Linked DNA regions of Homo sapiens: region 2 is linked to region 1. The links are contacts of gene promoters, found by promoter capture Hi-C in blood cells and fetal thymus (Javierre and others, 2016). All regions are on one chromosome and are shown on one strand. The core of a region is centred on a gene start or on the middle of the fragment in contact, and the rest is flanking DNA. Distances in the headings are between cores, read along the strand shown. Region 1 holds the start of S100P (S100 calcium binding protein P). Region 2 overlaps KIAA0232.

Evidence for each region. Contacts are between HindIII fragments. The CHiCAGO score rates a contact against its expected background, and 5 or more counts as called.
Region 2: a contact is called between a fragment that was not itself captured here and the fragment with the promoter of S100P in region 1, in 8 of 17 cell types (naive CD8 T cells, total CD4 T cells, total CD8 T cells and 5 more). The highest score is 12.2, in naive CD8 T cells.

Annotation. Positions count from the first base shown.
Region 1 is chr4:6,690,519-6,696,437 of GRCh38, forward strand. It overlaps S100P (S100 calcium binding protein P), which reads left to right and starts at 3,360. Exons shown (of 2, transcript NM_005980.3): 1 at 3,360-3,552. The coding sequence starts at 3,415. It overlaps LINC02481 (long intergenic non-protein coding RNA 2481), which reads right to left and starts at 1. Exons shown (of 3, transcript NR_147207.1): 1 at 1. RefSeq lists enhancers at 2,044-2,581, 2,891-3,627, 3,628-4,363, 5,566-5,919. The HindIII fragment of the contact is 13,149 bases long and covers 1-3,902 here.
Region 2 is chr4:6,877,443-6,883,361 of GRCh38, forward strand. It overlaps KIAA0232, which reads left to right. Exons shown (of 10, transcript NM_014743.3): 10 at 3,345-5,919. The coding sequence ends at 3,524. Among named protein-coding and RNA genes, the nearest start is that of TBC1D14, 29 kb to the right of the region's middle. The HindIII fragment of the contact is 7,029 bases long and covers 1-5,919 here.

The sequences.
Region 1 (5,919 bases), core at 2,110-4,609:
GATCCCCACCTGGGCCCGACTGACTGGGGATGTCTCCTGCCTGCCCATCTCCGTGGTGATAGGGCGGCCTTGCCGAAACAAGGCCACATCCTGGCCTTCCCGGGGGTTGACTGCTGGGCCCCTTCCTGTCAGCGGTTGCTCTTTACCCTGGTTAACATGTAGAAGCTCGTGGTTCGAGCTCTTCATCTGGCCTCTTTTTTTTTTTTTTTTTTTGAGACAGAGTCTGGCTGTCGCCCAGGATGGAGTGCAGTGGTGCGATCTCAGCTCACTGCAACCTCCACCTCCCAGGCTTAAACGATTCTCCTGCCTCAGCCTCCCGAGTAGCTGGGATTACAGGCACGCGCCACCATGCCTGGCTAATTTTTGTACTTTTAGTAGAGACAGGGTTTTGCATGTTGGCCAGGCTGGTCTCGAACTCCTGATCTGAAGTGATCCACCTGCCTTGGCCTCCCAAAGTGCTGGGATTACAGGCGTGAGCCACTCCCAGCTGCCTCAAGGGCAACTCCCCGCATGGCAATAATCACGACCCCTACAGCAACATTCCTGAATAAAGTCAGAATAATTTTCTCTTTAACTGGTCCTCTGACTCAGAGGTCTGTGTTGAACCCTTTCTTGGAAAATGCCACCTCCCTCCTGAGAAGAGTCTCCAAGGGGGCTTGTCCTCAGAGTTACCCAGGTGAGCTACTCCAGCAGGGGCAGCCCTGGTGGTTTGGTGACACTCCAGTGGCCTGAACGGGTGGGGGAGTGCAGCAGTTTCCACCCGATGGATGTCCTGATCCTTCCTCCCACAGCGGTGAAAGATTAAAGTGAATAGTCGGGCATGGTGGAGCGCCCCTGTAGTCCCAGCTACTGGAGAGGCTGAGGTGAGAGGATCACTTAAGCCCAGGAGTTGGAGGCTATAGTGAGCTGTGATTGAGCCACTGCACTCCACCCTGGGTGAGAAAGCAAGACACTGTCTCTAAAAGTAAATAAATGGGGCCAGGCACGGTGGCTCATGCCTGTAATTCCAGCACTTTGGGAGGCCGAGGTGGGCAGATCACTTGAGGTTAGGAGTTCAAGACCAGCCTGGCCAACATGGTAAAACCCCATCTTTACTAAAAATACAAAAATTAGCTAGACAAGGTGGTGCATGCCTATAATCCCAGCTACTCAGGAGGCTGAAGCAGGAGAATCACTTGAACCAGGAGGCAGGGGTTGCAGTGAGCCAAGATCGTGCCACTGCACTCCAGCCTGGGTGATAGAGCGAGACTCCGTCTCAAAAAATAAATAAAAATAAATAAATAAATAAAAATTTTAAAACAAAGTGATGACCGGACTGGCCAACATGGTGAAACCCCCAAAAAATTAGCCTGGTGTGGTGGTACATGCCTGTAGTCCCAGCTACTCGGGAGGCTGAGGCTGGAGAATCACTTGAAACCGGGAAGTGGAAGTTGCAGTGAGCCGAGATCACACCACTGCACTCCAGCCTGGGCAACAGAGTGAGACTCCATCGCAAACAAACAAACAAACAAACAAAAAATATATGTGTGTGTATATCTATATATATATGTGTGTGTATATACATATGTGTGTGTGTATATATGTGTGTGTGTATATATGTGTGTATACATATATGTGTATATATGTGTATATATATGTGTGTGTGTGTGTGTGTATATATATATCTATATAACGCAGTGAATGCCCTTCCTGAGGAGCACTGCCTCTGGGGTAGGGAGCCTCCTTCTCTCTCCCACTTCTCTGGCTGGGGTGGTATGATGGTGGCCTGTGCTGTGCGACCTTATCCCAAGAGGGAACTGCCCAGCTCAGGAGTGAGCAGAATGGACCTGTCCCTGCTCCCCAAGGGGTCACCAGTGGGGCCAGTCTGAGCCTCCACTGCAGGACACCTGGGCAGAGGCAGTGTGTTCTGAGAAAGCCGGCTCTTGTGAGACCTGCTGCTGCCATCGTGCACCAAGGTTTTTCTATGTTGAGCCACAGCCCCGTGGGGAGAGTCTCGGCCCATGTGCTGGTGGAGGCTGTGTTGGGAGAGGTTAGGGAACTTGCTGGAGGCTGACACTCTGGAAGATCTCTGCTGAGAGAGAGGCCTTTGAGTGTGGGCCTACTTTGACCGGGGCAGGATGTGAACACAGGCCCCTACCTCCATGCTCTCCAGGACTCGCTCAGCCTCCCAAGCACAGACCCTCTGAGTACCTCCGCTATAGAGACGGGGAGGGGTGTGACTGTCCCTGACTCTGCCCAGAGTCCCAGGAGCCTTTGTGCCGTCTAAGCCCTGTGGGTGATTTGGGTTTGGTAAGTGCCGGGGCTCAAAAAACAACACCCCAACGTGGAAGCCTCAGAAACAAAAGTTTCTCTGTCCTGCTCCCACCCTCCTGTCTCCAGCTCCTCCTCCTCTGAGAGGCTTCCCCAAACCCTGCCATAAAACCCAGAAATATGACTCCAGTTCTCCACTCCCTCCCCTTTCTGTGTAGAAACCAGCCTAAAGAAACCCTCTGGCCTGCTTTATTTGACTGTAGGTCATAAGAGCTCCATTCCAGAAAGAGTCCTGCCCCACACCTAGAAGGAAGGAGAGCTGCTCAGAGAGGCCCCAGGGAATCTGACTCAACAGGCCCTACCAGGCTCTCCTCTTGGTCTGTGAGCATCCAGCCTTACTTTTGTATCCAATCATATTTCCATACTTCGCTGAACTGTGTTTATGGATAGTTTCCACCAGATCTTTGGATCTTCATCTTGAAGGCTGCCGTGCCACATAAGCTATGATCAAATACATCTGTTATGCTCTTCTCCTATTCATCTGCCTTCTGCCCGTTGATTTTCAGCAAACTCCCAGAGGATGAAGGGGAGTTTTCTGTTTGGCCCCACAGGGGAGGAGCGAGCGAGATTGACGTGGAAGCTGGGCCTCTGAAGGACACAGAGTGCTCTAAGAAAGGGACGATGGGGCAGATCCATGTTCACAAACACGCCCATGTGAATTCACTCTCAGATGTCTCCTCGTGTCAGCACGCTGGGTGCCAGCACGCTCTGATATTGACACAAAGGGCCACGGAGTCACCACTCACTCCACACACACTCACCCCGTGCCCACTTACCCAGGGAGGGCCAGGAATGAGGATGCCACTGTGGCTCAGTGATGGCGCCGAGACACAGGTGAACACTGTAAAATGTGGATGCCTGGAGGCAGCCCACACCCTGGGCCTTGGCTGGGGGAAAGGTTCCAGAAACGTCATCACAACGATGCATTTCATCAGAACTGAGCACATGAATGGGGAGGGGCAGGACTTCCTGAATGTCCCAACCCCACTGTCCCACCCTCTGTGTCAATATGAGGCTGCCTTATAAAGCACCAAGAGGCTGCCAGTGGGACATTTTCTCGGCCCTGCCAGCCCCCAGGAGGAAGGTGGGTCTGAATCTAGCACCATGACGGAACTAGAGACAGCCATGGGCATGATCATAGACGTCTTTTCCCGATATTCGGGCAGCGAGGGCAGCACGCAGACCCTGACCAAGGGGGAGCTCAAGGTGCTGATGGAGAAGGAGCTACCAGGCTTCCTGCAGGTGAGCCAGGCCGGCAGTGCTGGACTCAGCGGGGGCTGGGGAAGAAGGGGAAGGCGTGGCAGGCAGAGGGCTGAGAGCTGCGGTGGGGTCGGCGGTCAAGGGGCTCAGAGGCAAGAGGGACAGATCCTGAAATGCCCTGGAAGCCCAGCCAAGGAACGGACCCACCCTGGCATAAAGGCAGGGGAGGCGGGAGCATCTGAGCAGGGAGAGGGTGTGGTCAGCTTGATCCTTGAAACATGGGGTTGACCCCAGTGTATTTGTGACAGGCCTGGTGGGAGAGTGGGACTCAAACCTGTGCAGTGGGGGCAGGGGCGGAATGCAATCCAGGGCTGCCATTTGCAAGTTTGCCAAGCTTGCCAAGCCCTTGAGCCCTCGGGGCTGTCCTCCAAGGCTGCCGGCCATAAACGCCCCAGCTCTGCCTCCCACTTGCCCGCTTTCCCTGCTCCCATTCCCAGGCCCCTTGTTGCCTGGTATTAGTGGGTCTGGCAGGAAGGACGGGAGGAGGCTCCATCCTGGCACCTGTCTGCGCAGAGCTGTGGACCTCCCTTGGGCTCCCTGCCAGGGAGGAGCCACCGGCCTGAGCCTCACAGAAGGCCCCTCAGGGCGGCCAGGACCAGCTTCCTTCCGCCCGGGGCAGCCTCCGGCTGGGCTGAACAGAAGCCGTACCCTCTCCATTTCCCCTTCCCTTTGACCCCTGTCCTCTCCTTCTTTCTCACTCCCCCACTTTCTTCCTTCCTTCCCCTCCCCTTCGGGCCCCACCAGACTCTGCCTACCTGCTAAGGGGCTAACCCACATAGATGCTGATAATCAAAAATGAAAGCCTGAAATTTTCAGCCCTAGAATCACTTCAAAGACATGAAACACTTCAGAATATTGCTTCTATTTTCTTTTCTTTTCTTTTTTTTTTTTTTTGAGACAAGATGTCACTCTGTCACCCAGGCTGGAGTGCAGTGGCAGGATCACGGCTCACTGCAGCCTCGACCTCCCTGGGCTCAGGTGATCCTCCCACCTCAGCCTACCGAGTAGCTGGGACTACAGGTGCATGTCACCATACCCGGTTAATTTTTGTATTTTTTTTAGAGACAAGGTCTCACCATGTTGCCCAGGCTGGTCTCAAACTCCTGTGCTCAGGCAATGCGTCAGCCTCGACATCTCAAAGTGCTGTGATTACAGGCGTGAGCCCCGACACCTGGCCTAGTTCTATTTTCTAAATGTGAATTCTGTAAAGATATCTTTTAAAAATAAAGTTCTGTTTTTGGTAGAAAATGTAAAAATAGATAAATATGGAGGGAAGAAATCCCCCCTGGAATACAGACGCTTCCTCTCCCTTCCAGCCTTTTCCCCATATGAACATTGCTGTGAGTGAGATTTACATGCAATGTAATTTCTTTTTGAGCTTAACATTACAACATAAATTCTCAAACTCTGATGTTCATTAAACACCCCAGCCCCATCCTGGGAACTTGGGCTTGGGGCTCGGGGTGTTCTGATAATGATCAAAGTATGAGAATTGAACCCATGAGGACTTTGATCCAAGATACTGGGGTGTGGGGAGGGGCAGGCACAGGTGTCCTGGGAACACACTTTGAGAAGCAATGGCAAAGCTGGGGGTCCAGCTAATGTGTTACATTAGAATCACCTCGGGGAGGCCCTGGGTGCCCTTCTCAGCCCTCCCTCCGGAGGCTGCTGAAGCCCAGCAAAGCCGGAGTCAGAGAACAATGTCCGCCTGAGGGCAGGGCTGGGCTGGGCTGGCCTTCTGGCCCTATCTGCTCCGTGCCCAACCCAGCGCCCCGCACAGTCGGAGCTTTGTAAATACGAGGTGACTGTCTGCCTACAAACTTTGTAAACATCACTTGAAATGGCCGCAGGGTATTGTGACATGGCCATACCACTATTTGTTTGCTATTGAATTTGTACTTCCCTGCCTTACTTTTGCTATTGCAAACCATGCTGTCACTAAGGTCTTCATGCACACAGTTGTGTCTTGGTCAGATGATATGTTTCTACCAATTTTAATTGTGTTTCTTTCCACCTGGACACACAGCTCTCTGGCCCAGGGCTGGGTCATCAGCACACCCTGCTGCTGCTGTTCAGATCTGCATCCTGGTCCCGCTTGGTCCCACAGTGAGAACGCTTTGCTATCACATGGGCAGGCTCTGAGAGCCCTGCCGGCCTGGCCTTCTCAAAGAAGACCTGAGAGCTTGGGACCCAAGCAGAGAGGAAGAACAGGGCTCAGGGTGCTTGCTCCATGCTCGCTCCACACCTGGGGCTCAACCCTGGCTTTCCCCGGCTCCCTGTGTGACTTCAGGGCAGGTCCCTTGGGCCCTCTGGGCCTTATCATCTTCATCTGTAACAGGGCGATGCCTC
Region 2 (5,919 bases), core at 1,190-3,689, 190 kb after region 1:
TAGGGTTCTCCAGAGGGACAGAACTAATGGAATAGGTATATATATACACAAAGGGGAGTTTATTAAGTATTAACTCACACGATCACAAGGTCCCACAATAGGCCATCTGCAAGCTGAGGAGGAAGGAGAGCCAGTCCCAGTCCCAGTCCCAAAACTGAAGAACTTGGAGTCCGATGTTCGAGGGCAGGAAGCATCCAGCATGGGAGAAGATGTAGGCTGGGAGGCTAGGCCAGTCTAGTCTTTTCACATTTTTCTGCCTGCTTTATATTCTAGCCACGCTGGCAGCTGACTAGATGGTGCCCACCCAGATGAAGGGTGGGTCTGCCTTTCCCAGCCCACTGGATCAAATGTTAATCTCCTTTGGCAACACCCCCACAGACACACCCAGGATCAGTACTTTGCATCCTTTAATCCAATCAAGTTGACACTCAGTATTAACCATAACAAGTCCACCCCTTGTCAATTTGAACCCATACACATCTCCTGAAATTATATGTAATCTTCAAATAAAGACAATAAGGTCATAATTATACCTAACATAATACAGCTATGCTTCATACAACCGGAAAAGCACCAATCCCAAACCCAAGTACTATTACATAGAGTTAACAATACTTAAATGCTGATATGAAGTCAATAAATCTTATGTCAGCCGGGCGCTGTGGCTCACGCTTGTAATCCCATCATTTTGGAAGGCCAAGGTGGGCAGATCACCTGAGGTCAGGAGTTCAAGACCAGCCTGGCCAACATGGCGAAACCCCATCTCTACTAAAAATACAAAAATTAGCCGGGCGTGATGGTGCACCCCTGTAATCCCAGCTACTTGGGAGGCTGAAGCTGGAGAATTGCTTGAACCCAGGAGGTAGAGATTGCAGTGAGCTGAGATCGCACCACTGCACTCCAGCCTGGGTGACAGAGCAAAACTCCATCATTCATTCATACATACATACATACATACATACATACATACATAAATATATACATACATAAATCTTGTGTCACATGATAAAGGACAAAAAATAAAATGAGATTTTCTTAGTACAAGTGTATACATGCACAAACGTGTTTTTAACGAAGGAGGAAATACTCCTCAAGACAATTACAGTCCTGGTTTCTGCACCTGGTCACATGGTCGTAGCTGGTATTGATGACTACCTTCTTCTACTACCCATTCTGTATTCCCTTTGCCTTCAGCAAGCACCTCAGCAGGTTGTGGTTTTTTCCCGGTGGAGTGACCTAAACCTTCATTCCTAAAGAGTCTGAGCCATTTGTATCCTGTCTGGACTGGGCTGTTGTAGTTTCCCGTTAACTTGAATCACACGGCATGTGATCAAGTTGACACTCAGTATTAACCATCTGTCAGTGTCCATTCAAGTCCTGTGAGAACTGTCTGCCCAAGCACCTGTAGCATCATCGTCCACGTCCTGCTGCCCACTGACCTGTCCGGCTCCACACATGAAGGCAGATGTTTGAGGCCCCCACCAGCTCTCTCCTCAGTGACTAGTTCACATCATCCCTCCAGCCTCAAACCCCAAACTGAGACATATTCCCCAGTCCTCTCTCTCATCTTCCACACACAGTCTGCCTGCCAGTCCTGACCGTTCCCCGCTGTCAGCCACTTCGCATCTCCCACTTCTCCTCCTCTCCATCATTACCACTTTGTTCAAGCCACTGTCCCTGCTCCTGAACAGCTGCCATGGTCTTTTCATTGTCCTTCCTGCTTTCGTCATCCTTTCCAGCCTTCTCTCCACACAGCAGACAGAATGACCTCACGAGCAGTATCTTGTTCAGTCCTCACAACGACCCTGTGAGGTAGGTACTGTTGTCATGCCTGTTCTGCAAAATAGGAAAGTGAAGCACAAAAACATCAGGCGCCGTGTATCCGAGGCCAGAGAGCCACAGCTTCAGTGTGGACCTGAACTCTGAACCTCAGCAGTCTGCCTCTAGGACCCATACTGCTAACCATGATGTCACTTTGCTGTTGCATTTGAGACAGATCCAAACTCCCCGCCACGCCTCTACAGCCCTGTATGTTTTGCCCCCGTCTGCCTTTGACCTCATCTGTCTCTGCTCTCCCCTTACTCTGTGTGGCTTTTCTGTGCTTCTGCCTCAGGGGTTCTCAACCAGGGGCAATGCTGCCATTTGGAAATGAGGTGGGAGTGCTGCTAGTTACTATGGCAGGGTGAGGGGAGCTTTGTAATGACTGTGACTGAGGAGGGGCCACCACTGCATCTCATGTCCTGGGGTCCAGAGATGCTGACCATCTGGTGTAGGGGAGACAGTCCGACACCACAGAGTGTTGGCACCTCTGCATGGCTGGCTTCTCAGCTGAGCGGGCCTCTTCTCCAAAGAACTCCCTTCCCAACACACCCATCTGCAGTGCCCCCCCTCACCATCTGTACTGTGTCACTGCAAACTCCCTTCCCAACACACAGGTCTGCAGTGTCCCCTCACCATCTGTACTGTGTCACTGCAAACTCCCTTCCCAACACACCCGTCTGCAGTGCCCCCTCACCATCTGTACTGTGTCACTGCAAACTCCCTTCCCAACACACAGGTCTGTAGTGTCGCCTCACCATCTGTACTGTGTCACTGCAAACTCCCTTCCCAACACAGAGGTCTGCAGTGTCCCCTCACCATCTGTACTGTGTCACTGCAAACTCCCTTCCCAACACACAGGTCTGTAGTGTCGCCTCACCATCTGTACTGTGTCACTGCAAACTCCCTTCCCAACACAGAGGTCTGCAGTGTCCCCTCACCATCTGTACTGTGTCACTGCAAACTCCCTTCCCAACACAGAGGTCTGCAGTGTCCCCTCACCATCTGTACTGTGTCACTGCAAACTCCCTTCCCAACACACAGGTCTGTAGTGTCGCCTCACCATCTGTACTGTGTCACTGCAAACTCCCTTCCCAACACACCCGTCTGCAGTGCCCCCCTCACCATCGGTACTGTGTCACTGCAACTGGCACATGTTGGTTTGCTCGTTCATCTCCCCAGCGAGCCTGGCATGCGCCTTCCACTGCTGGAGTCCCTGTGCCCAGTAAAGTTCCTGGTGCATAGCAGGTACTCAAAGACTTTGAAAATGAAATAATTCTTTATCCTACCCTAACATGGCTAACATTTTGTCCAAGTGACTGAACATGTGGAATTAGGATTTTGGATCCTTCATGGATCAGAGAAGAGAGGCGGTTTTGCTCTGAAACAGTAAAACTCTGCATGTTTGTAACTCCACAGGAAAACACTGATGATTTATTATTTCTTCTTTGTATATAGATAGAGTATCTCACCCTTTTGGGGAAAAAAAAGTCTTTTTGATGTGTTGAAAATTGTTTTAATCTTAGGTGTCTTCTGTTTATGAAGCAAGATGTACAGGAGAGAGAGATTCTGGAGCAAAGTCAGATGGCTTCCGCGGAAAGATGTGCTCCAGCGCCAGCTCCACCTCGGAAGAGACAGGCTCAGAAGGCGGAGGCGAGTGGGTGGGCCCTAGTGAAGAGGAGCTCTTTTCTCGAACTCATCTCTAAACCTGCAAAATAGTACAAATTATTGTTTAAAAATGATATGTGATGGAAAATTACTCTTCAGTGAGACCTGTTAATCTAAAACAACAACTTAGGTTTCCTCTTCAATTAACTGATTCAGATTGGTAATAATTATCTTTCTCTTCTTGCTTATTTTAGAGTTGAGGACAGCTATCCTGTTAAAGATTTTTTTTCCCAGCTGTTAAATTCTTGGCTATTTGAAATAGACTAGATTGTGTTGTCAAATCAAGAATGGGTGTGCATGTGCTTGTCTTAGAAGTATCACTGCTTTTTGCATCTTAACTGCAGTTAATTTTCCTTCCGACTGCGGTTATATCACTATGACCTTACTAGCATTGCAGTGTCAACAACCACTTCTGCTCTTCAGAGACTTCAGCTTTGGAGCATTTAGGCTTTGTTCTCCAAGAACTGGGATATCCATTCTTACCCTACAGTGGCTTGATGCCTTTCTGAAGGCGAGAGGGAAGCCTGGGTGACTCAGCGGTGGTCTCCATTCAGCAAAATCTCATGTACATTTCCAGTAGGAACCGCAGAGGTGTGCTTTTCAAGACTCACCAAATACTGTGTTTTCTCTCTTAGGATTTCTTTTCCCCTAAAGTATCACGGAAGATACTATGGTTCGTGACTTTCTTGCTAACTGAAGAAGCCAAGGATTTGGGGTGTGGGGTCGTATGCGAGACACAGTGGGGTAAGGGTGCATACCCCACCCCTTACCTGCTCTCATACTGCAGTTACATTTACACCAAAACCCCATGCAGGGTTCTTTGTGGTGAGTGTTCCATACGTGCTAAGGACCTTAGTTACAGATTGTTACTTTCTGGTGACCTATGTTGAATTGAAACCCCCAAAACTTGAAATTGTGAACATTTGACATGCAGTAAAGGCCACCTCATCACCCAGAGAAATCTTTGGCTGCTGCAGCTAGCCGCTTCTTGGCTGTGATGTAGTATAGCTTCGATCTCATTTTGTGTTTGAGAGAATGTTCTGGGCAAGTTCTGTGTGTGGTGGGTTGGGGCGGGTAGAGTCATGAGTTTTCCACATCCCTGTGTGGTGGTTTTGCTGACTGTCGCTCCGTGGGACTGGCTCCCGTTTCTCCTTGGTGAGCCCGGGGAGCCGGCGCATCTTGTGAGTCGCGTCTGTGCATGGCGATCCGCTCCTCCGGCTCTCATGGCATTGTGCCACAGGCAGAGGCCAGGAGGAGCAGTATGTGCACAGCCGAAACATTTTACATTTTTTACATTGTTTTTCTTTTTTAACCAACTCATTGTTTAAAAAACAAAAACAAAAAAAACCTAATCTGTGAAATCAGCGTAGCATGCCTGGAGCATCAGGAATGGCAGAAAAGTCTGATGCGCTCTAGACAGCTTCACCACTCATTTGGGCAGGCAGTAAACACACATATAATTTATTAGCTGGGAGCTGAACTGGCTGTGAAATCTATGATTTGCTTTGAACATTTGGGTTTTGTTGCCTTTTTCTTAATTGATAACACAGAAAAGAAAGTACCATCAAAGACTGTGGAGTCATTGAGGGTCTGTGTGTCCTCACCGAGAGGGACCTGGTGTGCCCGCCGGGTCGATCTTCCCACGTGTTAGGGTTTATTTTTATACAACACATTTTTTGACACTTTAAGGTGGGTGGGTGTGTGTGTGTGTGTGTGTGTGCGCGCGTGCGCGCGCGCATGTGTAAGGTTTTATGTTGCTGTTATTTATTTACGAACTTCAGATACGTTTTTATGTATTTTTCATTCTTCTGGAGCTTCCTAAAAATTGATAAGCATCTGCACTGAAATATAATTTAACAGCAAAAGTAAAAAAGGATTGAAAGTTGTAAATTCCTCATATCACTACAGTGACGATTATTCTAGAAATCGTTGCTTGTGTAGCAAAGACCAAATAAATAGATTTCAGACACAACCTTGAGCACAGTTGATTTTGGACAGCTGCTGTTTATTAGGAAAGGGCTCCAGGTGGCAAAGGTGCACACTTCCTCAGACACAGGTGAGAAGATGCAGCACCTTCCACAGGTGAATGGGACGGATTCGAAGTGAGCAAAGGGATTCACAAATTATGTATTTATTTGTTTTCATAGTTAAGTAGCTGAAGCTCAGAGGCTTTCAGCAACAGAGATGAAAGTGTGGCTTTTTAGTTTTGTGAATGGATGATCACAAAGAAAAAGCATTTTTAAAAAGTTGGCAAACGCTGAAACGCACTGTGGTATGAAGCGCATTGCATTTCCATAGCACTGAAGTACCAGTTTCCATTCCTGGGCTGAGATTGTTTTTCCCGTGGTTGTATTGTTCTGATTTCACGTACACCAGAGTAACTGATTTTTTTTTGTTTGTTTTCTTGTGGAGTTAACACCAAATAAAAATTGT